7 separate regions of the Homo sapiens genome follow, and all the other regions are linked to region 2. The links are contacts of gene promoters, found by promoter capture Hi-C in blood cells and fetal thymus (Javierre and others, 2016). All regions are on one chromosome and are shown on one strand. Each heading gives the region's core, a stretch centred on a gene start or on the middle of the fragment in contact. The rest is flanking DNA. Distances are from core to core; before and after follow the strand shown. Region 1 overlaps LRMDA (leucine rich melanocyte differentiation associated). Region 2 holds the start of ZNF503-AS2 (ZNF503 antisense RNA 2). Region 3 overlaps LRMDA (leucine rich melanocyte differentiation associated). Region 4 overlaps LRMDA (leucine rich melanocyte differentiation associated). Region 5 overlaps LRMDA (leucine rich melanocyte differentiation associated). Region 6 overlaps LRMDA (leucine rich melanocyte differentiation associated). Region 7 overlaps LRMDA (leucine rich melanocyte differentiation associated).

Region 1 (3,828 bases), core at 1,062-3,561, 910 kb before region 2:
TTTTTAACCCATTTAAACATCTTAAGGCAGTGAGGATTAGGGACTGGCCTGAAATGCCATTCTTTGATCAAAGACCCCAAGACTTTACACAAACATAATCACAAGGCAATGGATGCCCCTCTGAAGGCTGAATTGATTTGTTTGACTGCAGCGCCTGGGATGGTAGAGAAGCCGCACACTGACTTTCCTAACTCCCAACATATATGTCACCAGGCCAAGTGACTTAGAAATTATATTTCTTTTCTTCCTGTGTCTTAATTGGAGCCGTCACTTTCAGATTCAGACAGAACTATGGGGAGAGGTTTTGAGGAGAAGAAAATGTGAGCCATATGGGTGCTTGCTATGGCTTCTCCATCCCCAGGCTGGGAGGAGAGAGGTGAGAGCAGGAGAGAGATTGGTGAGAAAGCAGCAGCCCCATGGTCTCTGATGTGTAGCAAAGGTGACTTCACAGAGAAGGACCTGGGTTTAGATTGGCTGGTTCTACTGGAATCTTCTCCATCTCCTCCAGTCACTGGGTAACTGCAGTTACCTGTCTCGGTCCATGGAAGTAGTCTTGGGAGGGGAAACAAGCACGGCCTTTCCTGGGGCCAGTGAACAGCCACCATGTGGCTCCCTATCCATCTTCGTCTTTCAGGACCAGATGCCAGGATGAAACCACAGGAAAACCTTCAAGATATGCTTGTGAGATCGCTGCTATGACAAATTCTCATGGCTCACTAGTGTTGACACTTGCCATACATATCTACAGGTAGATCATTTCAAAGTTGCATAATAAAGACAGTATTTAAAGAGAAGGTTGAAGGGACCATTGAAAATTGATGTTCAAGTAGATGAAGGTGTCTTTGGAAGGAGTAGACTAATCAAAATTTTGTTCCTGGGTTTGAGGATTTTTTGATTTGGGGAGAGGGCAAGTAGGGTTGGTTTGTTATTTACATTACAGAGAGACTGTCAGAAAATGAAATTTAAGTCACACACAATTAAGAATTCTTGACCAAAATGACTCTATGGGGACCACTTGCTACATTTCCAGGGTAAGTTGTAGAATCTCCCTTGTTGAACAGTTCAGGAAAATAAGATTATCCTTTTGATGGTAAGTCATGAAATCCACCTCAAAGTGCTTTAAGTTTAAAAAGAGGAGCAGGGGGCTTTAATGAGCTCAAGGTATATGGTTTCATATACGGTTAGATCCAGGTGTTCAAACTTCTCATCAGAAATTTCTATCTCAGCTTTGTTTCTTGGTTTCTCCACGTGGTGGCCTCCCAGGAGCCCCCCACATCTGTACCTCACCATCTTCAAAGACAAAAGAAAGAGTTTCTCTTTCCTGTAAGTTCCAACAAAATCTGGGAATCCGTGGCCTGCTTTGGGTTATGTGCCTATCCTGGAAAGAATCTCCTCACCCATGAGAAAGAACCCTCTACCTGATTGAGCCTGGCTCCTGTGCCACTCCTAGTGCTGAGAGAGCAGCTGGCCCCATCAGACCACTATTGATTAAGGGTGGTCACATGGTGGTTCCACAGAGTTAGGTCTATCCCAGAATACAGTGTAGTGGACACCAAAGAGGCCAAAAGGGCAAATTCCCCTTCGAAAGCAGACGACCTCCTGTGTAAGTCTTCAGGAGCCCCTCACTGCATCCCAGACATTCAAAACATCTCATCATTATCTTTAGGCCAAACTGAACTCATTATGCAGTGGCTCAATCCTGACATCAACATCAACAAAAGGCCTCCACCTCCAGAAAACCCTCCCCACGAGGTCTTGCAGATATCATAAAGTTTATACCTTTCAGGATCTTAGTTGACATCAGGCAGGTTTATCATACAATTTTATTCTTCTAAGCTTTGGTATCCCACAGAAGATTAAAAACAGCCACAGGCATCTAAATAGAGCAACATGAGGGGTGGGCAAGGGTAGCTGCTGGGGTCACAGTATGACATGGAAAAAGAAACAACCACAAAAAGCTAGACTAAGAGCTGAACCACAAGATGCTGCAACAGACCTCTGAAATGATGACACCCCAGGCTTCCTCCACTCCTCCACACATATATATGTCAACAGGATAAAGTTAAACTCAGTGTGGTATGTTCTGTTTAAGTGAGGAGTAATACAGTATATTTAATTACTAATTAGCATGTGTCAAGCAACTACTGGTATCAATTCTGGGAATGAGACATCATACACATTTTGTCCACACATTAAACAGATAATACCACAAGAGAATATGTGACCAGTACAAAAGAGTAGCACGAGGAAGTCCTCTGGGAACAACAGTCTAAAAAGTTTTAATTTTGACATATGCAAACCTCAAAGGTATGGGAAAATTAATTCTAATGTGCATCTCTCATTTTCCAAAAGCATTTCCCCATTACTCTATCACTCGGCCCTCTTTATCTTTCAGGCCTATTTCTAAAAGAGATGCCAAGGATGTTTGCCTTGAATATATCCAAGCCTCCAGGTTCATTGTGTTGAGGATGAGGACAATGTGTCCTGGACAGCTTAGGTAAGCCCCTGAAGATCCATGCCCCGTGTCATGTGTGACTTAGGATGTGGAACTGAAGACCTACAGACTTAGGACTAGCTGCTACACTTGAGTTTCATTTCCCCCAAGAGACCCAAAGAAAGTAGGCAGGATTCTCTGCTTAGCAATTCAACAGCACCCACTATAGCAACCAAAGGGGGATATGTACAAATGCTCTGCTAGGCTGCTAAAACTCTTCTGGGCTAGAGCCCACATGCTCTCAGTGTCTATATCAGGATAGCTAAAATCTGAAGAAGAACCATGAAGCTTGGATGCTAACATTTGGAATTCCAAAAGGGCTGCAGTATGCAAAAGTATGTGTGTATGTGTTGATTGCAGAGGAGAGGATAAGGATATAAAAAAACTCTGAGTTCCAAACCCAATCTTTCTTTGTAAAGTTAATACTAATCCTCAGCCTGTGTACCTTTCTAGATAAGAACTTAACTTTTCTAGATAAGGACTCTACATTATTAAATATTAATTTTCACAATACTAATGTGTTTATTATAAAATATAGTTAATATAGTAGATTGGAGCCAAGGGAAATGGTGGAAAATAGTTTAATAGATGGAAAGTCATTTGAGAAATAACCCCCAAAAATCTTTTCTCCTTTATTTTCTTTTTTCAAAATTTTCTGTAAATTATTCACAGAGCCGTTCTTGAAAGAGGCCTTTTTTATTTGCTTTATACTATCAATAACTGTTAACATCAAAAGTTTCATTCATCTAAACGTATACATATGTGTGAAGCTATTTCCTTGAGAGATTCCAGACCCAAATATATGATTACTACAAGAAAAATGACTAATCAAGTATCATAATCAGTAAGTCTGATGTCCTGTGCAATATTTCTAACCATTCTAGCAGCCTTATTCTCCCTGAAGCCAAAGGAAATGCAAAATTTAAGTTTATTTTCTAAAGAAACACTACCCTGTGCCCATCTTAGTCTTCAACTCTCAAACACATTGTGGTCTAGAGGGACTCAGTCACTGACAAAGTATGCATGAACCTACCCTGGGTGGGAGATCCCATTCTAGGTATATGTTTTGCTCAGGACAGTCCAATGTCCTGACCATGAAAGAAAGAAAGAGGAAGGGAGGGAGAAAAGAAAAAGAAAAAAGATGTTTTGAGGTTACTTTCCAAATGAGTTTTCATCCATTAAAACATTTTCCAACATTTTTCCTGACTCCGTTCTACCATCTACTGTCTTTTGTACCAATTATAAGATAGAAAGGGCCCAAGAAAGGGCCCACACATGCTACAAGCCCTCTTTTCTCTTATTCCATATCCAGGATTCCTAGGTTTTGAAAGGTA
Region 2 (3,929 bases), core at 1,300-3,799:
AGCAAATTCTAAAACTCACCCCGGAAAGTTCTCGGTACCCGTGCGGAGTGGGAGACAGAGAAAGAAGCCGGGGAGGGGAGTCAGGTGGGGGAGGGGAGTGAGATGGGCCAAGAGGAGAGGGCGAGCATACCAAGGGCAGTTCCAGACCCGACCCCCGCGCGCACCCGGCTCAGCCCCAGGTGCGCGCCGGTCGAAACCGGGTCTCCAGGCTCGGCCCCCGCCCCCCACGCGGGCACAGACTGGCTCCCGACTCCCAGAGCTCCCAGCCCCACCATTTATCAAAAGGACTTGACAACAAAAGAAGAGCCGGGGCGGAAAAGCGGAGGAGGGGAGATTCAAAGTCTTCTAAGTCGTTCCGAGGAAGGGGGTGTGTCCTCCTCCCCACCCCCTCTAATTTCTGCGAGTTCCTGGAGGAGACCCTCGAACCCGCTCCGGACGCTATCAGAGCCCCGATAACTCACGCAGCGCCACAGGCATGCATACACACTGGGCATCCAGGTCCAGGTACCCGGTGGCACGCACAGCGCCTCCCCTTTTCTTCCCAAACAACCCGAGTGACGGTGCAAATCGAGGGGAACGCGGCAGTCCCGCTCCGCTTCCCTGGAAGAACCCGCGTTCCCACAGGCAGCCGCCCCCTCCCTCTCTCGCTCCTTCCCTCGGCTCTCCTAGCGCAGCTCATTCCGACTCGGCGTTCCAATAAATTCGAGAGAGCAGCCCCGAGTTACCCTGGCTCCCCAGCCTGCGGGGATGGCGGCAGGTGGGAGAAGGTCGGGGAGGGGGCATGAGTGAGCCTGAGATGTTTCTTCCCCCATACACCCATGGCCAGGCCTCTTCTTCGCAGCCTCTTAGCCCTGCTTACGACCCGAGGGGGTCAAAGAATTGAGGCGAGGTTTGCCCCACCATTGACCTCCAGGACTAGAAGTTCCTTGGTGGTGTGGCTCTTAGAAGTCTCCGAGTTTGGGGTTAGGGAACTACAGAGGGTGGCAGCCTGACCTCCGCACGCAACACGCCCCGCGAGGACTCGCGGCGGCGGGGTGGGGTGGCGGGAAATCTCCCGTGTTAGAAGTTGCCGCCGCTGGTCTCGGGTACCCGGAGCCGCGCCCGAACTCCGCGACCCCAACAGACCGAGGCTCCCAGAGGTGGAAGGGCGTCTCTCCGACACCGAGAGGGCAGGCGCACACTCCAGGCCTGCGCGCCCCTCTCGGCGCCCTGGGCGCACCTGCGCACTTTACTCTCGCTATTCATTTTCCTGACACCGTGCGCCTCTTTCATTCTTTTTCTTAGAGCCCCCACCCCACCCCCATCCCAGGAGGCCGCTCCTCTTTTCCCCTCCTCCAGTTCCCTCTCAATCTCCTCCTTCCTCTCCGTCTCTCTCTCCCTCTCTCTTTTTCCCTTCAAGTCGCACCCGCCTTGTAATCAGCAACAAAAGCTGACATAAATCACGGGAGGATTGACAAGAGCTGACAAATAACTGATTGATTGCGGTCGAGGAACATTGACAATTGATGGAGGGGTGGAGATGCCCAAAGAAGGGGGGGAGGGAGGAAAACAGGGTGGGAGAGTAAGAATGGGGGGTTGGGGGACAGACTGAGGGTGAAACAGAGGAAACATGTGACCCCCGCTGCTGCCCCAATCTACGCGTCCCCGGGCGTCACGTGGCCGGGAAGGGCGGAGAGCCCAGCGCTCCTCGCGGTGTTGAGCCGCCGCCGCTGCGACTGCCCATCTAGCTTCTGGTTTCTCCGCCGCGGAATCTGAGGAAATTAGAGCGGGCGGGCGGGCTTCTTCCAGCTCCGGCTCCCCACCTTGCCTTCTTACCCTGGTGGCTGCGCTGCGCCGCGCGGGATCTCGATTACTGCGAAGGAAAAAACACTGGGTGTGCAGGTTCCCTTCGCCCCTGGAGTTGACAGTCCGGCCGGTGTCCACACTCCCACCGGTGCTCCTTCTGGACACCCCCCGCAGTCTGTTCCTCACGCGCACCCCCCTTCAAAAGAAGGTTTCAGTTTATTTTCGAGCTGGGGAAAGGAAGAACGACGAGGAGGAAAAAAGAGGGAGGCGGCGGATGGCAAACGTAGAATAAATGTCCATCTCGTCCTCCCAGCGAAATCGAGGGAGGGGACACACAGGGGGGCGGCGAAGAGGGAGCTGCCCATTAAAACCGGCACTGAGAGTCCTGGCAGCGGCGGCGGCGGCGGCGCGGGACGCGTCACATCCCCTTGACCCTCCAATCACCTCGGGCTCCCATTTGATTGGAAGGCGGCAAAGGCTTTAATCTCCCCCTTGGTGCAGCTGCTTTTGAAGTGAGTTTCCTCGCCAGAGCCCCGGCTGGACACGCAGCGGCTCGCATCGCAGAGCGCAGCGCCGGCGCGGGGCCGCGAGAACGCAGCGCAGGGGAGCAGCCCGAGGCGGACACCGCGAGCCGCCCGGCACTCCCGCAGTCCAGCCGGCTCCTCTAGCCCGGCCACGGCTCCGCTGCGGGCCACCCAGGATTACTCGCGTCTGGCTCCAGGCGCCGAGAAGGCGCGCTGGGCGCCCGTGGCCGCCGCGCCAGCTCCTCCTCCTCCCGCTGCTCCTGCTCCCGGGGCGAGCGCGCAGCCCCGAGCCCGCCCCGCGCCTCCCGGAGCCCTCCCCCCCGCTGCTCCCATGCGCGCGGGTGGGTCATGAGCACAGCGCCCTCGCTTTCTGCCCTAAGAAGCAGTAAGCACAGCGGCGGCGGCGGCGGCGGAGGCGGAGGCGGCGGTGCAGACCCTGCCTGGACCAGCGCGCTCTCTGGAAATAGCTCCGGCCCCGGCCCAGGCTCGTCCCCGGCCGGCAGCACCAAGCCTTTTGTGCACGCCGTGCCCCCCTCTGACCCCCTGCGCCAGGCCAACCGCCTGCCAATCAAGGTGCTGAAGATGCTGACGGCACGAACTGGCCACATTTTGCACCCCGAGTACCTGCAGCCCCTGCCTTCCACGCCGGTCAGCCCCATCGAGGTAAGGACCCTCTCTCTGGATCGCACTGGGACCACTACCCTGGCTGCCACCCTAGGGCTTTCTTTTTCTCGGGATCTGGGCGGAGGTGGGGGGGTCGGAGTGATTCAGCTCCCGAATGGGGGAAGAGGCTACTGCTTCCGTACCTCAAAACTAGGGCGGAAAAGGGGGAGGAAGTGGAATGGGGCGTGCATGCTAGGGAGCAAGGCTGCCAATACTTGTTTCTCCTTTCGATATGAAAGCCCCTACCCCGACCCAGGCCCCTTCACTCGGCACCGAAGGCAGGCGGAGGTCTGAAATACGGTTCCAAAGTCGCCGTCCTTCGTATCCGCAGAAGCCAGTGTGTGCACACAGCCTCTGAGGCGCCAGCCGCCCGAGCCCTTACTCTGAAGAATTAAGGAGTGTTTGTGGGGAGGGGGTACAGTTCTGGGTCTAGGAACCGAAAACCAAAACATTTTGCTCTTTAAAAATCTAGTTAGCGCTCAGAGAGGGCAGGAAAGATGCTGCTGGGGGTGGTGGTTGGGCGGGGGGAGCAATCTGCTGCCTTTCCCAACGGCGAGAATGTTTGTGAGTGGGTGTTGAAGAGGGGGTGCCGCCTAGAATTGCGCCTTGGGGCTGGGAGGATCTTCGTGGGCTGTTGCGGAGAGGCATTTGAACCCCAGAAGCCAGGATTCTAAAGGGTTTCCACTTCTTTCTCTGTGTGACGCTCCCCCCCCATCGTCTGACCCCGCAGCTCGATGCCAAGAAGAGCCCGCTGGCGCTGTTGGCGCAAACATGTTCGCAGATCGGGAAGCCCGACCCCTCGCCCTCCTCCAAACTCTCCTCGGTTGCCTCCAACGGGGGCGGCGCGGGCGGTGCCGGCGGCGGTGCTGCGGGCGACAAGGACACCAAATCGGGCCCCCTGAAGCTGAGCGACATCGGCGTGGAGGACAAGTCGAGTTTCAAGCCGTACTCCAAACC
Region 3 (3,799 bases), core at 154-2,653, 600 kb before region 2:
CTCTACATAGGAGGCAAAGTCATCTGCTGGTTCAGAAAATATGGTCTACTTTGATTACAGCTATAAGTGAAAATCTAAGTTCGGACTATACCATAATACCTAAACATATTTAAAATTGGATAATTTTTCACTACATTTGAAAATTTACTCAATGGTGTAAATGCCTATATATTTTAAATATAGCAAAGCACCTTAAAAATTACTACTGAAGCTAAATGTGCAACTAGTAACTTATGGTGTGAACTTGTAAATTATCTATTCTTAATACAGATAAGAATTTTAATCAGTCTTTATTCATTCATTGTTCATTCATTTGCTCATTGATGAATTTATTCACTCAGTTTTTCATTTAACCACTCATGTCATTCATCCAACAAACGTTTTGAGCCATTAGAAACCCAAAAACCCCACCTGGGCTAGAGAACTCTGGCTTTATACCCAGGTCCCAATCTCCATCTGATACCAAGCACTGCCTAGCGGTACCATGAGCCACATAAGATTAAGGACTGGCAGGCACAGGTATTCTTCATCTCCCTAAGCCACATTGCTCAGATTTGTTAGGAAGAAATGATATTCCAGGCATTCCAATGTTGACTGGCTTCTTCCTCCCCCTATCAGACACTATGAGCTCAGAGACAGTTCATTTTATAATCTTTTTGTCCTTCAACACCCTCAACTGACTTACCTGCCATTTACTCATCTCACCTTCCTAATGCTGCCTCTCCTGACCACCCTGTTCAATACTGCAACCTGTCCTGCCACTTCCACCCGGGACTACTAATTTTATTACCTGCTCTCTTTTTCTTTTTTCCATAGCATTTTTTGCCCTCCAACGTGTAACGTCTTTATGAGACATATTTATTGTTTAATGTCTATTATAAATTTTTCCATTTTGCCCATGGATTTAATGCAAGCACCTAGGATAGTGCCTGATACACACTGAGCACTCACTTGAGTGGCAGAAGGAAGGGAGAGAGGATGGTAGAGAGAGAGGGTGGGCCAGGGGACGTTCCTTCCACTGTGGTCTAGGCTTGCCTTGAGTCGGTCAGGAAGGTTAATTGGCTGCAGGCTGACTCAAGTGGAAGGATTTGGGAGACTACTCATGGCCTCTGATTTTCCACCCACCAATCCCGTCTAATGGTGGAGTACTCAGGAAAGAGGGTTGCCATATCACTGCCCACCAATTCTCGCAGCCAGGGGTGGCGCTCCCTGTTCTGATGGCTTTCTAAATGCTGGGCATTTGTTCCTTCCCCAGATACTGGTAATCTGCAGAATCTAGGGCTATTTGCACATAAATACCAACGCCCCACCTCCATCCCAGGCACAAAACTCCTATATTTATAAAACTCATCATTTCCGTTTGTGTTTTCCATTCTGGAAATGGCAAAAATAAATAAATAAATAAACTGCAGATTGTTTTCTGGTGAAAAACCCTCAAGCTGAGTCTTCCCAACTTGGGGATCTTTCATTCCTGAATCATCCCCAGGCCCAGAAGGCTGGGCCTCTCAGCCCACTCTTTGCAGTCTGGCACAACCTGAGGAGTTCCCTGAAAGCCTGAGACTTCCCAGAAATGTAGGAAAAAAACTTTTTTTGTAGGAGCCCCTCCTTGCCTCAATGCCAAGGACCTTACCTGTTTTCTTGCCTCCAGACATGCTCCTGGCCTGTCTCCCTGCTCTGTGTGTGTGTCTCTTTGTTGTAACTCCACACATAACAGCTGCTGTTTCATTTCATTAAAGATGCCCTCACATGACTGGGTAAATTACAATGAGAAGAGGTACCTACTGGGTGCTGGACCCTTTATAAACATTACTTCTAATGCAAATAGCAACCCTACAGATTGATTACCATCCCCATTTTACAGATGTAGGAACTGAAGTTCGGAGGCTAACCACTGCTAAAAGTGGTGGGCCTGGGATGTGAAACCCACAGCCACAGACTCTGAGGCCTGGGTGTTTCCACCACACTGTATGTTAGGGAGTGAAGGTTTGTGCCCCACCCCGCAACCTCCTCAAATTCATATATTGAATCCCTAGCCCTCAATGTGACAGTAGTTTGAAGTGGAACCTTTGTATAAGTAGTATTTGAAGTTGCAGTATTTGGAGAGAATTGGGGTTAGATGAGGTCACATGGGTGAGACCCTCATCATGGGACTGGTGCCCTCAGAAGAAGAGTGAACAGGGTGTGCTGTCTCTACCATGTGAGGGTGTGAGGACCCAGCAAAAAAGCAGCCATCTGCAAGCTGGGAAAAGTCTTCACCAGAAACAGAGCTGGCTCTTGATCTTGGACTTCCAGACTCCAGAACTGTGAGAAACAAATGTCTGTGTTTAAGCCACCTGGTCTGCAGTATTTTTTTATGGCAGCCCAAGCTGAGTAAGACACCATGGCAAGTAGAAACGGCAGTTCTTCTTGAGCCCTCAGGGTCACTTCCATGACACTCAGGCCAGTCCCAGGGATTTTAGAAGAGGTTTTCCAACAAGCCCATTTGGGGTTCTCCAAGGGCAGCAAATGTTGCAGTATACAATTTGGTTTTGGGTGGGTAGCTGCAAAGAGGTCTGTTTTCAGGGCCTTTCATCCATGAGGAGCTACAAGCATAGCGTCAAGGGCTCTCCTCTAAACTCATTAAAGGCCAATGAAATGTTTGATATCTGAAAATAAATGGCTCTAAAATGTGAAATAAAAATTGCAAAACTAAGATTAATAAATGTTTCATTAAATAAATAATAATATAATAAATGAAAATAATAAATTAAATAAATATTTCATTAAATTTCAACAGAAAGAAACATTATATTCATCAGTCAGTTAAGTGCAAATCAACTCAAGCTTTACAGTTAAATATAACAAAGTTTAAGCCATAATGAATTTACTCTTAAACTTCAAAACTATAAAAATGATTTTTAAAATCCATCCCCAAAATTTCACATTGAAACTTCATAAATCATGTTTAATATGAGATGGGGGTTAATTTTAATATCTTTGATACGCTGTGTGATGGGGCTTCTAAAGTAACAGTGCTCAGGATGTTCAAAGGTTTTGAAGGGCCCTATTTGCTAGTGGGAAATCCAGCCTGGGAAAACACATGTGATGGTTGATGACTTCATTTTTATTTGTTTGTGTTTGTTGTGTTTTGCTAGGGTAACCCAGCATGAAATGACTGACCTGCGTTCTCAGACAGGGGAACCGGAAGCCATAAGGAAGAACAACCAGACAATGCGAAAGAATTTCAGGCTCCTGCAGGAGATGGGGTCTCCAGGAAGGCAGGGTGGTGTGCCAGAAAAGCATCAGATCAGGAATCAAGAAACCTGGGTTTTATTCCTGACTTCACTATGGGCAAGTTATATGACTTGGGGTGCCTCCCCGGGGCCTAGAACTGTGCCTGGCACACATACAAGGTGTTGAATGAATCAACGTGAGGGGGCCTAATAAGTCCTTGTTTTCTAATGGTGCATGTGAAGACCCCTTATGGTGGAGAAGCGGGAAGGGAGGGAAGCAGACTCTCAACACCAAGCATCCTCTTCCATTCTGCTCCCTGCCTATTCACATCAACTTTACGTAATCAGACTTCCAAGAAACCCTCAAATGCAGGGCACGGAGGGGCCCCAGGAGACAGGCTAGCAACACATCCTGGGGTCACATGATACAGCTCTGAAATGGTCCCTCATTCCCAACATGTGAGGCCACCTTTCTCACAGATGCACAGGCCTCCCTCATGAGCAATAAGCCTCACCTGCAGCCCACCATATGTCTTCCTAAACTCGAGGTTCACCACTCGATTCACATTCACCACAGCCCCTGAATG
Region 4 (4,140 bases), core at 866-3,365, 540 kb before region 2:
GAAAGAAATATTACCAGATGAAATTTCTCTTCTACAAAAAGGAATGAAGATCAGTGGAAAAGACAAATATGGGGTAACATGTAAAGCTCACTTCTTTCAATTTCTTTCAAAGATATATAGCGATTTAAGCAAAATGTTAACATTGTAGTACATGATTATAAGTGTATGTGAGACAGCAGAGCAGAGCATACAACCACATGCAGCATGAGCATATAGCAGGTCCTCAATAAATAATTGTTGAATAAGTGTTGAATTGAGCTAGATAACTACCCAAAGCTCCTTTCAGCCCTACTATTTCATGAAGCTAAGCAACCATGGCCAATCTCTAATCCACTGGTGCTAATAAACTGAGCAAATAATCTCTAATAGTTTATCATCCAAAAATGAACTGTTTGATTTGGATTAATATGTCAATATCTCCCAATATGCCACTGAGTCCCAAATACAGCAGCTAACATATCACAGGAGATCAATTCACATTCTTGGTTCTATAACAGAGAGGAAATCCATGATAATTCCACTTGCTTGGGACATTTTTCTTTCTAATGACATAAAAGTAAGAATAAAGTACAGCAGTTAAGAGCATGAGTTTTGATATTAGACAAAACTAATTATTTCTGGCTGTGTACCTTTTAGATGTTTTGCCTAGGACAAATCACTGAAGCTCTCTGAGCTTCTGTTTTCTCATCTGTAAAATGGTGGGAGAATAGTACTTTCATCACAGGTTGTTGGGATGACTAAGTTGTTTATAAAGCTCCTCCATGAGTGTCATAGGAGATTCCTGGTGGGATGATTTAGAAGTTAAAATGTGCTTAAAGGTATAATCCTCAAAGCAGTGAAACAAGAGTGGACTCTGGAAGATTCTATCTCATAGTCCTTTTTTTTTTTTTTTTGCTGAAAACATCAGTGGGTGCTTTTGCTAAGCCATCCAATTTAGAACCCTTTAACTTCATCTAACAGTTAAGAAACATCCATCCTGGAACCAGACTCCCTTGGATCCCTGTTCCTAACCTACTCGGAGACAAAAATGGCCTGACCACAAAGTGGCCCATTTCTTTATATAAGCCTCTCCAAATGAATGGTCAACTCAAAAGCCAATCTAAGTACATGACTTGTAGCATCACAGTAGTTCATATCCCACACAAATCCAGACTCATGGATGATAGGACTTCAAACAAAAGACTACTGAAAACCGCAATCAGAACACATAGTTACAGAGAGAGCAATGTCTCTGTGATCCTTCAATTGCCAGCCATGAACTATGTTCCAAGCAATCTCCTCAAATGCTCAGCTAAAGAAACAAAGACCAGGAACCCAAAGACCCAGTGTGCAGCAACCAGCATCCCTCATCAGCACATTAATTGATGAGAAGTTGACCAGGCCAAATCCTCCAGGGCATCACTGCAAAACTAATGGGGTTCACCTCACTTGTTGCCAATTAAACATAAACCAAGCACAGTGTTTATAATCTCAACTGCAGAAATGGGTTGCTTCTCTGGTTAATTACTGGTCAGGTGGATTTCTACCTGCCCTTAACTTCCCGCAAGTGGTTAACTACCGAGCCCATCATCACCAGCTTCATGAGGATTAGAGGTTAAGCATAAGCTTGATTATAAGCCATAAATGTAAGTAATTTGAAATGTTATTGGTTATTACCAAAATATATGATAATAATTTCCTCTTTATTGAAAGGGAACATGTTTATAGTGGTCCCAAGCTCCTTGTTCAGGCTTTGGGAAAGAGATGAGCATGATAAACAGCTCAGCCTCTGGATGGGCATCTGGGGTGAGGTGGCACAAATGAATACTCACCACTTAGCTGGGTCATAAAAATGCAAACACATCACCACATTTGTATGATAAACACTGAGTTTATGGGCTCTCTTCTTGAAGGGGCTGCACGTCGCTGAGGAAGGGTAGGTGTTGAAGTGTTTGGAGTCAGAGGAGCCAAAGAAGAAGAAGACCAGAGAGCCTCCATCCCACTGGCAGGATGACATGTTAGAAATGAGAACCTGCCCAAGCAAACCCTACACGCTGTGATTACAAATCCACACAAAATGTATAATATGTAAAATAATAATACAGACTGCAGAGGTATAACACTATATTTTAAACCTCCCAACCACATAAATGTGACATGGAGAGAGTAGGACATGAACAAGGAGCCTAGAAGGAGTTGGTGAAATTCTGAATTTAGGATAAAAACTCAATATCCTCATTGAACAGAAAGAGGAGCTGAGTCCTATTCCTCAAGAGATGGAAGGAGGGCCTGGATACTGTCCACATGGCATGATTGTCATCAGTCCCCAATCTTTACAAGTGGTTTGTGGTCTGCATGGCTGCTTTGGGGGCTTCCTGAAGCTACCAGATCACAGGATACTCTACATTCCAGGTGGCTCGCTCTTAGGAAATTCTAATCAATGTTAGGCAACCCAAGCCAATCAAGTCGCAGATCTGCCCACGAGGTTACAATGCAGGAAGGGGATCAGGATGGCACCATGCCAGTGAGATGCTGGCATCTTTCCTAAACCCCATGAACGGTGACAGAACCCCTGGGCAAGCAAACCATGGCGCCAACACCAACAGCTAAGAAGCCTCCGAAAGCAAAGTGGTGATAAAAGCTTTATAGCCACCCCTCCTTATGCTGAGTGTTCTCTTTCTAAATTAAAAGTCGTTTTCCATTTTTAACAGCCCCAACAATAACACTTTATAGAGCACTCTCTTTTCACAGAGCACTTTACAGTCATTAGTTATTTAATCCTCAGAGGTGTCTCAGGAGGCCAACGGGCAATAGACTTGCTTACTCGCCTTTCCTTGGCCAGAAGAGCAGGAGCTGGCCTGTGGAGTATAGGGTGGGCTGGAGGCGGCGGCATTTCCAATACAGCGTGAAGGGCTCCATTTAAACTATAAGGTGGCTAGCTTGCATCTGCTGAGCTTGTTGATATTTGCAGAATGATTAGTTTTTAAACACAGTCAAACTATTTTCACCAACAGAACTACGTTTTGCCTTTGTTCCCCCTTAGCAGACACCAATGCTAGCTGTTCAGAGTGGTAAAGATTTTATTACAACCTTCAAGTTAACAATCCCTCCAAAATGTGTTTGTTACCCAGAGAGGCAGGCAGACATCACTAGTCCATTCAGATATAACAAACCCACTCAGTGAAATAGCTACACACAACTGTAAGGCATTTCTATTTCATGGAAGCATTTCTATGTATTAGATCAAACCCCAGACTATTTCAAACACCCCCTCAACACACACACACGCGCGCGCACACACACACACACCCCATAAATTTCCCTAGCTTTTCTCTGTAATTATTTTATTTAATGAATATTTATGAAGCACCTACTAAGCACAAGACACTGCTGAGTATATCAGGGATAAGATATTATAGGTACATAGTTCCTGTACTTAAGGAACTCACAGGCAAGGAGTGGCGATGAGATGGGACGCAAAGCTACTCTAACACAAGACAGAAAGTGCCAAGTGCCAATGTGGAACAGAGATAGGAGGTTACACAGGAACTCAGGGTGCAAACTCTCACTTTTAGTTGGTGGAAACCAGAATGGCTTCGTGGAAGGCACGGCTTTTTACCTGAGCCTTGGAAAATGAACAGACACATGGGGTCCAGGGCACTTCAGCTGTCCTCAGAACAGTGTGAGAGCAACCACCAGAAAGAAGACTGGGCACAGATGCATGAGGGGACAGGTGGCTCCAGATGCCAGGTGTGTAGTATGAGGAGAACAAAGGCCTTTCAGTCCACCTGGTTATCAACACGCCCTTCCCACCCCCAGCCGCTTACTGCCCCAATAATGCCTTCTGTATTTTTCAGTTTACATCAGAAATTGCCCCTATTTTGTTTATATTCCATCACCATCGCTACCTCCCACTACTAGAATGTAAACTCCATCTTACTCAACTGTGTATCCAGAATTAAGTTAGGTACTCAATAAATATCTGTTGAATTCATCACCTAATTAATGACTGGGTCGTGGAATCCTGAAAATGTGCCCTCTCCCATTTTAGTCCCAGAAGGTGCATAGTTCTCTTCATCCAAACTCTTGCTCACCCTCTGCCAGATTTGGGGGGTCTGATGTTATCTTTCTTCTGCTAAAGGCACGTGTGTTGGTACAAAC
Region 5 (3,780 bases), core at 11-2,510, 690 kb before region 2:
CTTTTCATATCCCCAAACTTATAATTTATCCATCATTATGTTCCCTATTCTCTACTCTTAAACATTAACTGCCCTTATTTAGGTGATGAAAGATGGGGAGGGAGGCTGTGGTTGTTCCGTGCATATGGAAAGCTGATCAGCTCAGAGCAGAGTGGTGCACTCGTGCCCAGTGGTCAGGGAAGGGAAAGGCTCTGCCGAAATCTCTCTGAGTTAATGGGTTCATGCAGAGCTGTCGCCTCCAAGCATAACAGACAAGGATGACTGAGCTGGAGTCTGCATCAAGTCTACCATTTTATGTCCAACGCCAGACAGAGCCATGATTCCAAGCCTGCATACCAAGAGCTCAGATTCTCCTCAAAGTGGTTGCGGAGGATCCCAGGACACTGGTAAACTTTCTACTTCATCTTCCTATGTGTTTTATTATAAAATGTCTTCATTTTTCACCAGTGCAATTAAGTTCCCCAACTCATTCTTAAGTCACATGTTTCTCTGTATTTCCATCGACAATCAAACAAAGGGAAGTGTTGCACAGTGGAAAGGATGCAGGCTTTGGAGTCAGACAGCCCTGGATTCAGACCCCAGCTCTGCCATTTACCAGCTGTAGGAACTTGAGTGATTCACTGAAATTCTCAGAGTCTCAGTGATTTCATCTGTCACAGGAGGTAGATGAAAGTGACCTCATGAACAATGGCCAGTGTTTGCATCATGTATCATAGCACTCTATTCATTACAACTAATTTGGTTCTGCTACAATCCTGTATAAAGAATGGCAAGAAAAGTGTCTTTTTCACCTCTAGCCTCAGTGTCTCGCTCAACGACTTCCATAGAGTAGGAACTTAATAAATGTTAGGTGTGTGTTGAATTAATCACACGGACAGAATTGTCATACTCAAACTAATGAGAACAATTAGGAGGGCTTTGTCTAGAAAGAAAGTCAAAGACTGAGAAGGGATCCCAACAGAATCAATAGAATCACAAAGAAGATAAATAAAGAAAAAACAATTGTTCATTCTAGAATATGGGAAGAAGAAGGAAATCTTGAAGCTTGAATGAAGAAATAATTTTAAGATGATGGAAGAATTATTTTATTAACTTTGTGGATTCATTGCCTCCAGAATCAGTACAAGCTAAAATAACCAATATATTTCAAAAAGGTTTAAGTAAACCCACCAACAACAAACCCATAAGGAATGGGCTGGCCATTAACAAAAAAGGTAATTAAGAAGTAAGCTGGGTGCCCAACAGATTTCCCTTTCGAGAGCCTGAGTTTCCCTCCTGCCTGGCTTCCCATCCAGATATTGTGAGTCAGTTTCTAATTCTCATTTCTTTCCCTTGGGGCCTTCCTGTTTATTGGCAACCAATTAAATTCCCACCCTCAAAGTCTCAATATATATTTTCTCCAAAAAGTAGACAAATTTTAAGATAACTCTCCTAGAGATAAATGAACCCCTCCTCAATAGGAAGAATGAAGCTTTGCTGGGACAAGGAAGATACTTTGAGGAGAGGAGGGAGAGCATTCCTCACTCAGCTCATTCCAGGGACAGAAGATGGTTACAGATAGAGCAGAAAGGAGCATCCTGTCCTCTCTGCTGTGACCATGACTGTCACCCAGCCTCGGCTAGATTACAGCAGTGATGGATCACTTTCCGCTCTGCCAGGTTTAGGTGCCACTGTTGGATAGTTCTGATGGTTAGAGTTCTTTTTGTGTGTCTGTGAGACTTTGTGTGTCTTGCTGTCACCCAGGCTGGAGTGCAGTGGTATAATCACGGCTCACTGTAGCCTCAACCTCCCGGGTTCAAGTGATACTCCCACCTGAGCCTCCCAAGTAGCTGGGACTATAGGTACACCTTGTCCAGATAATTTTTTGTTTGTTTGTTTTGTAGAGACAGGGTCTGCATGTTGCCCAGGCTGGTCTTGAACTCCCAGGCTCAAGCAATCCTTCCACTCTAGCCTCCCAAAGTGCTGGTATAACAGGTGTGAGCCACCACATTTGGCCAGTTAAGAGTTCTTGCTATATTTTCAAACACTGAGGAAATCAAAGTTTGTGTCACTGAGCAATGGAATAATGATTGCTGGTTTATCTTTTCCTTCCTTTTGGGCCCCTCTATTTGCAGTTCATTGGTCCTGTTTTTGGCCTACAGAGTAGGACAACAGACACGGATCCCTCTTCCACATGAAGCCCTTCCAATATTGAACACAGTACCTCTGGCATCCCCCTTAGCTCTTCATTCTCCAGGCTAAATTCCCATCTCTCTCTACAGCTACACTGAGGACCTGGCTTTGAGGGACCCCAATCACCCTCCCAAGATGATCCTGTATGACTAACCTTGCTGGGTAGATGGAAATTTTTGTCTCTCTTGGGATAATTACCAGCATAGGGTGTGGTATGCAAAAGCTTACGCTATGCAGAAGTTATAGAGAACACAAAGGCATAAAATTAATGTCAGGGCTTCTAGGAACCTCAGAGATAACCCAGTCCCCACTCTGTTTGTAGAGAATCTGAAAGTCGCAGAACAAGTAAGTGGCAAAACCTGGTCAAAAGCCTTGGCCCTACAATTCCTAGGACAGAACAAACAGTTCTGCCCTACACTGCTTCCTCGGATGAAGACAGCTAGTACCTGACCTCTGTTTTCCCTGCTACAACGAGACTACCCCTGTGTAATTCCTCTACCTGACACTGGGGTGCACTGGCATGCCACCCGCCCCACCAGGCAGATCTGAATGTCTGCCAATGCTGGGGATGATTTACAGGGCCTGTCTGGGAGATGATTTTCCAAGAAAACACTCCATATAATTGGCCTTTGGTATATCTCCTCAGTGGTGATTTATTTCTGTCGGACAAGCCAAAGAACGTCTCTCCCCACCTCTGCAAAGCCTCCGGTCCCTGGCCTCAAAGTTCAGCAAGTTTCTGGCCAGAGAATGTTCTTCCTCTCCACCCACTCAGCCCTTTTTTCTGTGGTTTGCAATCTCATTTTGCTAAATATACTGAGATGCCCTGTACACAGCGGTCTGCAGTTCTAGAATGTGCCTGACTTCCTTTGGCTGGGAGCATCACTCATAAATCACTGTGCTAGCAGCTGCCATCCATTTATATCCATGACCTATCAGGACTGAAAGCTCAAGTTCTTCCACGGTGATGCCTTTTTCATTCGGGCCCCTCCACGAGAGTAAAACGCTCTCTCTCCCACACATATACACATGAGTATTTAGCTGTGTGGTAGCCACAGAGAAGGGACTTGGTGAACACTTACTGAATAGAGTGTATAGAAATATTCAAAGAGTAACTTTAAACTTGGCCACTTACTTACGAGTGTTGACTGACAATTGCATGCCTAAGCTAAACTGCTCTGAATACAAACCTGAATGATGAGTTTGATGAAGAACATTCTCAGTGGAGGAAACTAGGGCTTGTTTGAAGAAATAAACAGTGAATTTTCCCAGCCTTGCAAACAGCTTCTGACATTTACCAGCCCACAGCTGCTTTTTACCAGCCCCATTGACATAGCCATTCCCTAGAAGTCCCTGAAGGATTTCCAGAGGTAAGACAATCCCAGAGAAGGAAAGGCAGAAAGTATGGGTTGGTGAGAGTGAACTCTTTCCCAAAAGTTGGGAGGGGTGCTCCAGTTAAACTCACCCCACTTAGCAGGCGCCCCAGCAAGGAAGTGCTCTGAACTCACGAAGTAACTGGGCTTTCCTGAGAATGGGGTAAGGCGAGGAACTAGAAAAAAATCAGAATATGTGTTCACTGGTCCCCAGAAGAGAAATTTGGTTTTATGCATG
Region 6 (4,170 bases), core at 1,661-4,160, 620 kb before region 2:
TGACCACCACAGAAGCAAATCTGATCCCAATCCACTCTACTACTCTCCTGGCCCCTAAGTGCCTGTGCCTGGAGCTTTGTTTGAATTCCAGGTGCCAGATTCAAAGGTGGATTTGCATTCAGAAACACCATCCAAGGACAACCACCAGGAGGTGAAGGGTGTAAGAAACAGTGATTGAGACAGTCCTAAAGTTGCTTAACCAGGAGCAGAGAAGTCTTAGTCATTTCAAAGTCCTCAGCCTACAGGGTTCCAGAATGCAGAATCAAAAACAAATAGAAAATTATGTAAGCTGGGAGGAAATGTCTTGAATCAATTTTTTGAAACTTGTCAAAATGGAGAAGCTGTTCACTAAAGGATGAGCTGCCCTCAGAGCCACTATACTTATTTGAACAGAGGCTAAAATCATGGAGAATGTTTAGAGGGAATTTCTTCATAGAGATCAGATTCGATGGCTTCTAATATTCTATCCAGATACTATGGTTATCTGACTGGAGCTCCTTCCTTTATAACTATAGTTTATAAGGGCTGTTAAGTCAGTTCTGCTTTGCCAAAGGGTCCCTTAAGAGTCAGTCTGGTAGGAAGAGGGTAGCAGAGTTCCAGCACACTAAACTCTATGCCTCATTCTTCTAGCTGGGACTGTGCAAGGCTTCTTTAATATTTTCCTAACTATGGGAAGGGTGTAACATGTGCCCATAATAAAAAGGCACATGTTTGCACCCTGACCTCTTATAGAAAGTAAACTACATATTAGAGCTACAGCTCTATTTGTGTAAAATATGCCCTATTATAGTCTTCTTATAGACTCATAGACTTTGAATCCTAGAGGAATTTTAGGCTGTTCCACTCTCCCCCTACTTCACAGAAGATGACTAATGTCCAGAGAGGTAAAGTGGCCTACCTGAAAACACACATGAGTCACCAGGCCACATTTAGAACCTGTGTACATAAAGTGCAGTGCTCCCCAACTATGTTAAACTACCTCTACATACTTTCTAGCTGTGGTCCAGAAATGGAAATTCACCATCGCCACATCCTTTATCCAAACACTGTGTGTAGCTTTGTAACCCATTCATTGTACGTCCTCAATTATTAATATAATGATGAACCTAAATGGTTTTCGAGTTCTTTTTCCTTTCACTCTGTACTCCATGGATGCTCCTAGAAGAATCTCCCAAAGAGCTAGTTCTTAGATTTTTTTTTTCCTTTGAAGTTAAGTATGCATTAGGTGGGACTGGCTTGAGATTTATCTGCTAATGATCCCCTTGGGGTACACCTCTATAGCTTGTTCATTCATTCATTTATAAAAATGTATTGAGTGCCAACTCTGTGCTTAGTACTTTGCTAGTCTCTGGAGCTACAAGGATGACTGTGCAATAGTCCCCTACTATTAAGTAGTAGGTATAGACAGGGAAGCAGTTACCAGATAATGCAGGGTAATAGATTGGGATGATTAGTGCTACTCTGAGAAGGGGCTGGGGCTGGTGAAGGAGATGGGCTTGAGCTAAGTCTCAATGCAAATGAATTCTAATCTTTTGAGCATCTGCTGATACCTTATTCCACATTTGGTGGTGAGGGAACATAAGGAAAAGAGATAACTTGATCCTGGCACTCAAGTAAGCTACAGTCCAGAAAGCTGATTTGCTACCAAAAAGCATGTGGTGTGGTATCCATTTCCAACATGACAGGAATTCAGTGAGCACATGCATCTGGGGATACAAATGATGCACAAGTCATGGAATCTGCTCTCAATGCTCTTACCATCTATGAAGGAGACAGAGACGCTGGGCTTGGAATAAGGGGACACCATACAGGACAGCGTATCAGTAAGCAGCATGGATAAGATGAGCTCTGGAAGTTGAGAGGAAAGCAATGAGGGCTGTAGTAAGCCCTTTCTGTTTTTGGCCCATCCCTCCTATGCTTGTCCTGAAGGTATTATAGCAAGTCCCTAAGGACAGAGACAAGGAGCAGGTGTCTCTCCAGGAACATACTAGATGAAGGACAGCCTCCATGTTTTGCTCCCATCATTCTCCTTCTCTGGGCTATCCTCCCTCCTCAAAGCGAATCTTTCCTGTCTTTTTCCCACCCTGGTGACAGGGTTTGGCCTGGGCTTTGACTATGTCTCTGAAATTATTTTGATTCACGGCTTGAGATTTTACAAAACCACACATGCACGCATGGAGCCTGTGGCCTCGGGATCTTGTTTGTTTTTAAGAGTCTAAAGAGTGAGTTTGTTTGGCGGGTTCTATAAATGGGGGTTTTCTTTGCTAGGGAGATGTGAGAGTGGACACGGTGTACCGCAGCCATGGTATGCGTGCACCTCGCCATGGGGCGGAATGCAGAGCCTGGTGGGGGAGGCGCCCACAGCCATTGGGCAAACATATGTTGGGCCAAGAACGCTGCTCTTCAACCTCATGAACTGTTTGCTTGAAAGATAACAGTGTCTCTTCTACACAAGCCTTTCACCACCCTCCATAAAGGGAATTTTTAATTCAACAGATGGTGTCTACTCATTGCAAGCCAACCAGAAAAGGAGACATTTACACGGCTGGATCTCAAAGCCCCAGGGACCCCAAGGGCCCCTAATCAAATACTTGCCCAAAGACCAGCTCCCCACGGGCAGGGCCCCCCTGGAATGGACTCAGGCCAGGAAAGCCAGTAAAAACGTGCCAACTGTTGATTCTGTGAGGTCTTAATTGGCTGAAAAAGGTGAAAACACGTTTTCTGTCCCAGACTACAAGATAGCTTTATGTCTCCAGCAGGAAAGAAGGCCCCAGGAGATATGGTGACCTCCAAAAGTGGCTTGCTACCGGAGCCATTTTCTTTCTTCCAGAATAGCTCTAGCTCTATGGTTCACAAAACCTCTCAAAGAATAATTTGGTGAGCTTTGCTTTCCAGATCCTCTCATGGCATGTCCTGGGCCCTGTGTACTAGCACCTAACAATGTTAGGGACAGAGACGAGATCAACTGTTTCCAGTTGTGCAGCATAGAGAAAAAGAGTTTTTCCCAGCACTGAACCAAGGCTATTTCCTCTGTGTCTGCCTCTCTGGTTATCTGACTGCTGCTCATGGCAGCAGGAAGCCAGTGTGGTGTTTTCATAGGGAATGTGTTGTTCTGATGAGGAATATCTTGTCAACTCAATGAGGCCAAACGCAAATCTAGTTGGTAAACACACAGCATAAGACCACTCCATTGAGTCATGAGCTCTGTTTTCAAGTCCTGGTTTTGTGAGCTAAGACTTTGGAAAAATAACACTTGGAAAATGTAGCTTTCTAATCTTTCAAGGTGGCAGAAAATCCCTGACCTGTCCAATTTGCAGATATCAGAATGGGGATCAGCTGAGATACAGTACATGAAGACAAACCTAGACCAATTGTTGTTTAGCTGAAAGATTGTTTTTGAAAAATAAATGTGCATATTTTCTTTTCAAAGGAAGAAATTAGTTGCCTCAGAAAATGAAGCAGGTCAGTGGCTAAACCTCCAGAAGAAATAGTGATATGTTTCAGAATCATTTGAATGCATGGGGAGATGACAGCTCGGGAGAGCCTCTGTCTTAGGAACAACCAAGGAACCTGATCCAGGTCCTGCCTTGGTTAGCACCTTGCTGCAGTATTTCAGTCAAACCCTTGCCTCCTGTGGGCCTCACTGTACTGTTTTGTAAACTAAGGCGGCTAGGCTAGATTATTTTGGAGGTCTCTTCATTTTTAAACATCCCATGCACCAAAGTGGGTTGCAAGATGAAAACTCGCAAAGTTTTATCATTGCCTTAATTGTTCCACCATTCAGTAAAAAGTTCAGCATGAGACTGGCAGACTATCCCTAACCCTCAGATGGCCAAAAAAAGAGAGCAGGGCATGTTTCAAGCCTCAAGTATGAAATCTGATTAATAAAAACGATCTGGGGGAAGGGGAAAGTTAGGGGAGAAAAGAACTCCCGCCTGCTTTTCTTCATCTTTCAGAGCAACCCAAACTAGGAAATGAGAGGCAAAGCGTCACACGCTCAGAGGGCAAAAGATAAATGTTTGATGAATTGACCATTGGTTGTGAAGTGATGGGCTTTGTATGTGCATAATGGCTGAGCTGCCTTTCCAAGCCGATCGCCTGCCAAGATAAGAAGCCATAATGGATGGATCTTGAGATGCCCTGGACAGAGGCAGCTTTAATTTGACTGGT
Region 7 (3,672 bases), core at 497-2,996, 520 kb before region 2:
GAGAAAGTAGAGCTCTTCCATGCATGAGCAACACATAAAAAATGGCATTGATCTAAAAACAAATCTCTAAGCACAGGAAACTCACTGGGAAATGCAAGCATTCACTGCAAAGGGGGAACACTTAGGTGCAGCTGGATGGAAAGGGGGAATCACGGGAAGGATCGGAGACTGAGATTTATGAGACTGGAACCAATAACGTCAAGCCATTTCTAGGGGTTTTCCTCTCCTATGGAGTTCCTCTCCCGGCTGTTTTTATGACAGCGCTGATTTCTACATGTCCTGTCATTAAATCTAGTCTCTGATTTTGAGGGTACCCATCACCGGCACTGAGCAGAATTATGCCATTAGAGGCATTATTAACTGAACCATTGACTTCATTGACTATAACAAGTTGAATTTTTGTTTCACACACAAAGAATATTCCCAGTGCAGACATCTATACCCTCTTCAATGTTATTTTATTAAGGATACCATAATTTTAATTTTTCCAATACAGTCAGTATTTAAATAAGCCGCAATGACAAAGAATAAAATTCAGTGACTATGGAAGATGTAATGAGGTACTAAGGAAGTAAAAGGTAGTGCAGAGGCAGGGAGAAAAGGGCAGAGTGTGTTTCAGGTTCAGCTCAGACACTGATGAATTATGTGACCTTAGGAAAGTCACTTAACCTCTCTGGGCCCCCATTTGTAAAATAGTATCAGTATCCCTTAGAGTGACTTTAAAGTCTAAATGAGATGATACCTGTAGCCTTTATATTCTGGCACACTGTAAGAGTGTGATAAATATGGATATCACCATCACCACCAATAATAGATGAAGAACAAAGTATAGGAAATAGATGGAAAGAATAGGGAAGAAAAAAGTCTAGCAAGACATCTAGGCTGAAGATGAAAATGAGTACTTTGGTAAGATCCAGGGAGAGAAGATAGGTTTCAATTTTCATGATAAAACTGATCAGCTGGTGTCTACCCTCAGGACATTGCTGAGAAGGATTCTGAGGTCTCATCCACATTCTGGAGAAACAGTCCTGCAGTCAGTGAGTTATGCCCACAGTGGGAAGTAGAGGGCAGTGTAATATGTGGAAGTTGGAAAGGCAGACATTAATGTTGGAACTCTGCATCAAAGGGTAAGCATAAGGTAAGGAGGAGAAGCTAGGCCAGGATTCATGATGAACCACACAGATGAAAGGAAGATGGCAGAAGGCAACCTCCAAACTGGCTAATAAGAACCAAGCAAGTAGACAAGAGGGCTCCCAACAAGGACAGATCCATACTTTTTCCTGGTCTTGACACTCAACCAACCAGTTCCTTTATGCCCATGGTCCATCAAGCAAGGTCATCTCAACCATTCTGATATGTCAAGGAAGGCAAACCAAACCAAAACTCATGCTGTCATGCCTGGGAATAATGAGAGAGACCATTAAGGTGGCAACAATTGAAAGCTTCAGAGTAGGAACACTTCTTCTTTCTAAATAGTGAGCAATTTTCCAGAAAGGGAGGAAATTGATCCTAAAAAGCGGTCTTCTTGATGGAGCATGGAAGGAATGAAACAGACGCCATGACTTTCCCCCATTGTTGGGAAGTCTGGCCACCAGGATGGGCAGGAAACAGATATCAACCCAGAAGAAAGACTTGCTACAAGTTTACATTTGGTTCTTCTAACTCACTATAGTGGAAGAAAACGAAAGAGATAAAAAGTAAAAGGAGGCCAATGTTGGGGGGAAGGAAGAGGAGAACAATTGGAGGATGCAAGAGTTTACTGTTAAGACACATTAATAAGTCCAGATGACAGAAAATAGAGGTGGGCAAGGGAATAGGAAGTTTATCAATATTAAATGCCAGGAAGGATCAGAAGGAGGAAGGGGATATGTAAATATGGTTTTATGAAAACTTCCTCACAACAAGAGCTTCTAGAAATTTTAGATCTTGAAAATAAAGAATGCTTCAGGTTGGTTTTAAACCAAGTTTTGAGGAGCCTCACTATCACTCCAGGAAGTCACTTTGGAATCTAAAAGACAGAAATGTCTATACAACCATGTAGATAAGCTTGCATGCACATATGCCCACATGCACACATGCATGCACACAGACACAAACACAAAGCTTTTTTCTACTTCAACTGGAAATCTTCAGTGACTATCTGAAAATCTCTCCAGATCCTTTGTCTCCTATGGGAGTCAAGATTCAGCCCCTCATCCTTTGACCAGGTGAAAATATTTCACAGCATGAGCTTCCCTATTTGAAGGCTAATTAGCCCTACACATCATCCATTCCTCCCATGAATATCTGCAGCAGTGATTACATACAGAACTAGGCTGACATTCTGCACTTACTGATCTGTATTTGTATTCATCTTTCTACACATATATGTCTGTCATCAGCAGAGTGGAAGTCCTGTGAGGGTAAGTACCATATATTCCACTACTTTACATCCCAGTATTAAATACACACTACCCAATACAAAGTAGGGCCTCAACAAATAAACCTATTTGAGGAAGGTAATGTCAGGAGGTAATGATTGGACCTAAAATAGTACAAAAGAACCAGGTCTCCAGCAACTTGGCATTTTTTCTTATTGCCAAATCTCATATCCTATTAAAGATTTACATGTCAGTGGCAGAAATATCCCTGTTTAAATATCTAAAGAGTGAATCCATTTGTTTCTCCCTACATTATTAATTTGATTGGTTTTAAAGTTATTGGATGTGAGAGGCATTAGACAGACCACATACAAAATGAGAGCTCCCTTCTCTCCTCTCTCTAGGAAATTACTCTAGTGGAACAACATGGCCCATCCGCACACCCTATCAGACATCTCCAGAGGCTGGAATCATGCCTGCAACTGCGCGAAGCTATGCACATAAAGAAGAGGCAGTACTTCCTGGGGGTGCAGCAAGTCATAAGCATTTATTGAGCACCTCCTATGACTGGCATTATAAAACCCAGGCTGAGCTGTGTTTCATTTTCTAGTCTTTGGGGTTGTTTTTGTTTTTGCTCTTTGTGCTAGAAAATCTGAGAGCCAGAGAAGAAGGAGGAATGTGGTACAATGCTAAGGATAACGCAGCTCTGCCATAACAATCAGCTATGTGACTATCCTTGGGAATTTTCCTCTATATACTTTGGCTTCCTTATCTGTAAAGCGCATAGAGAGGGCTGGATTGGATAAGTTATAGCAAGGAGTTGGTATCAGACAAACTTTTAGACTCCTGCCAATGCTATTATCCCAAGACTACTAATATTGCTGACTGGGAGACCTCTGTCCTTCATTTTCTTGTGAAACATCTGGCCTTCTGAACAAGCAGGTTCTCCAATCATTTCTAAGTCATGATCACCGAAGGATGCTTATGAAGTGCTCATAGAGAAAAAGCACTACACATTACTATACTGTAAGTCAAATGTGCCATCAACAGGAAAAGTCCTGGGGGTAATCTCAAATCCGGATCTTTTGGGTGGGGGTGGTGTACCATCTAGGCTTGCTTGGATTGCACTTTCTGACCCAAGATGTTTTGAAGGTCTCTAGGGAGCCAGCACTGAAAGGGAAGAGGCTTTCCAAAACAATGTACTTACTAGGCCTAGAGACTGGGAACATAGGGAGGGCCCTAAACCCAACCCCCAGGAGAATCAAGCATTGAGTGTTCAGCTGCAGAAGAAAACTGAAAAACTGGACTAAGC

The links. Contacts are between HindIII fragments. The CHiCAGO score rates a contact against its expected background, and 5 or more counts as called.
Region 1: a fragment that was not itself captured here is called in contact with the fragment with the promoter of ZNF503-AS2 in region 2 in 8 of 17 cell types (megakaryocytes, M2 macrophages, M0 macrophages and 5 more); the score reaches 10.2 in megakaryocytes.
Region 3: a fragment that was not itself captured here is called in contact with the fragment with the promoter of ZNF503-AS2 in region 2 in 3 of 17 cell types (megakaryocytes, M1 macrophages and endothelial precursors); the score reaches 5.9 in megakaryocytes.
Region 4: a contact is called between a fragment that was not itself captured here and the fragment with the promoter of ZNF503-AS2 in region 2, in 1 of 17 cell types (megakaryocytes). The highest score is 5.2, in megakaryocytes.
Region 5: a fragment that was not itself captured here is called in contact with the fragment with the promoter of ZNF503-AS2 in region 2 in 1 of 17 cell types (megakaryocytes); the score reaches 8.0 in megakaryocytes.
Region 6: a fragment that was not itself captured here is called in contact with the fragment with the promoter of ZNF503-AS2 in region 2 in 1 of 17 cell types (megakaryocytes); the score reaches 5.0 in megakaryocytes.
Region 7: a fragment that was not itself captured here is called in contact with the fragment with the promoter of ZNF503-AS2 in region 2 in 6 of 17 cell types (endothelial precursors, M0 macrophages, M1 macrophages and 3 more); the score reaches 9.4 in endothelial precursors.

Annotation. Positions count from the first base shown.
Region 1 is chr10:76,305,197-76,309,024 of GRCh38, reverse strand. All of the region lies in intron 5 of LRMDA (leucine rich melanocyte differentiation associated), which reads right to left. LOC112268057 (a long non-coding RNA gene) reads left to right here. Exons shown (of 3, transcript XR_002957050.2): 3 at 2,396-2,479. Among named protein-coding and RNA genes, the nearest start is that of KCNMA1-AS1, 580 kb to the left of the region's middle. The HindIII fragment of the contact is 946 bases long and covers 1,839-2,784 here.
Region 2 is chr10:75,400,148-75,404,076 of GRCh38, reverse strand. It overlaps ZNF503-AS2 (ZNF503 antisense RNA 2), which reads right to left and starts at 2,549. Exons shown (of 2, transcript NR_024421.1): 1 at 1,816-2,549. It overlaps ZNF503 (zinc finger protein 503), which reads left to right and starts at 2,313. Exons shown (of 2, transcript NM_032772.6): 1 at 2,313-2,972; 2 at 3,703-3,929. The coding sequence starts at 2,658. RefSeq lists an enhancer at 2,811-3,311. The HindIII fragment of the contact is 15,649 bases long and covers 1-3,929 here.
Region 3 is chr10:76,000,565-76,004,363 of GRCh38, reverse strand. All of the region lies in intron 2 of LRMDA (leucine rich melanocyte differentiation associated), which reads right to left. Among named protein-coding and RNA genes, the nearest start is that of MIR606, 450 kb to the right of the region's middle. The HindIII fragment of the contact is 2,845 bases long and covers 1-2,825 here.
Region 4 is chr10:75,939,918-75,944,057 of GRCh38, reverse strand. The region is part of intron 2 of LRMDA (leucine rich melanocyte differentiation associated); the gene reads right to left. Among named protein-coding and RNA genes, the nearest start is that of MIR606, 390 kb to the right of the region's middle. The HindIII fragment of the contact is 1,015 bases long and covers 1,608-2,622 here.
Region 5 is chr10:76,086,056-76,089,835 of GRCh38, reverse strand. All of the region lies in intron 5 of LRMDA (leucine rich melanocyte differentiation associated), which reads right to left. Among named protein-coding and RNA genes, the nearest start is that of MIR606, 540 kb to the right of the region's middle. The HindIII fragment of the contact is 427 bases long and covers 1,047-1,473 here.
Region 6 is chr10:76,023,105-76,027,274 of GRCh38, reverse strand. All of the region lies in intron 2 of LRMDA (leucine rich melanocyte differentiation associated), which reads right to left. Among named protein-coding and RNA genes, the nearest start is that of MIR606, 470 kb to the right of the region's middle. The HindIII fragment of the contact is 5,916 bases long and covers 1-4,170 here.
Region 7 is chr10:75,920,027-75,923,698 of GRCh38, reverse strand. The region is part of intron 2 of LRMDA (leucine rich melanocyte differentiation associated); the gene reads right to left. Among named protein-coding and RNA genes, the nearest start is that of MIR606, 370 kb to the right of the region's middle. The HindIII fragment of the contact is 604 bases long and covers 1,445-2,048 here.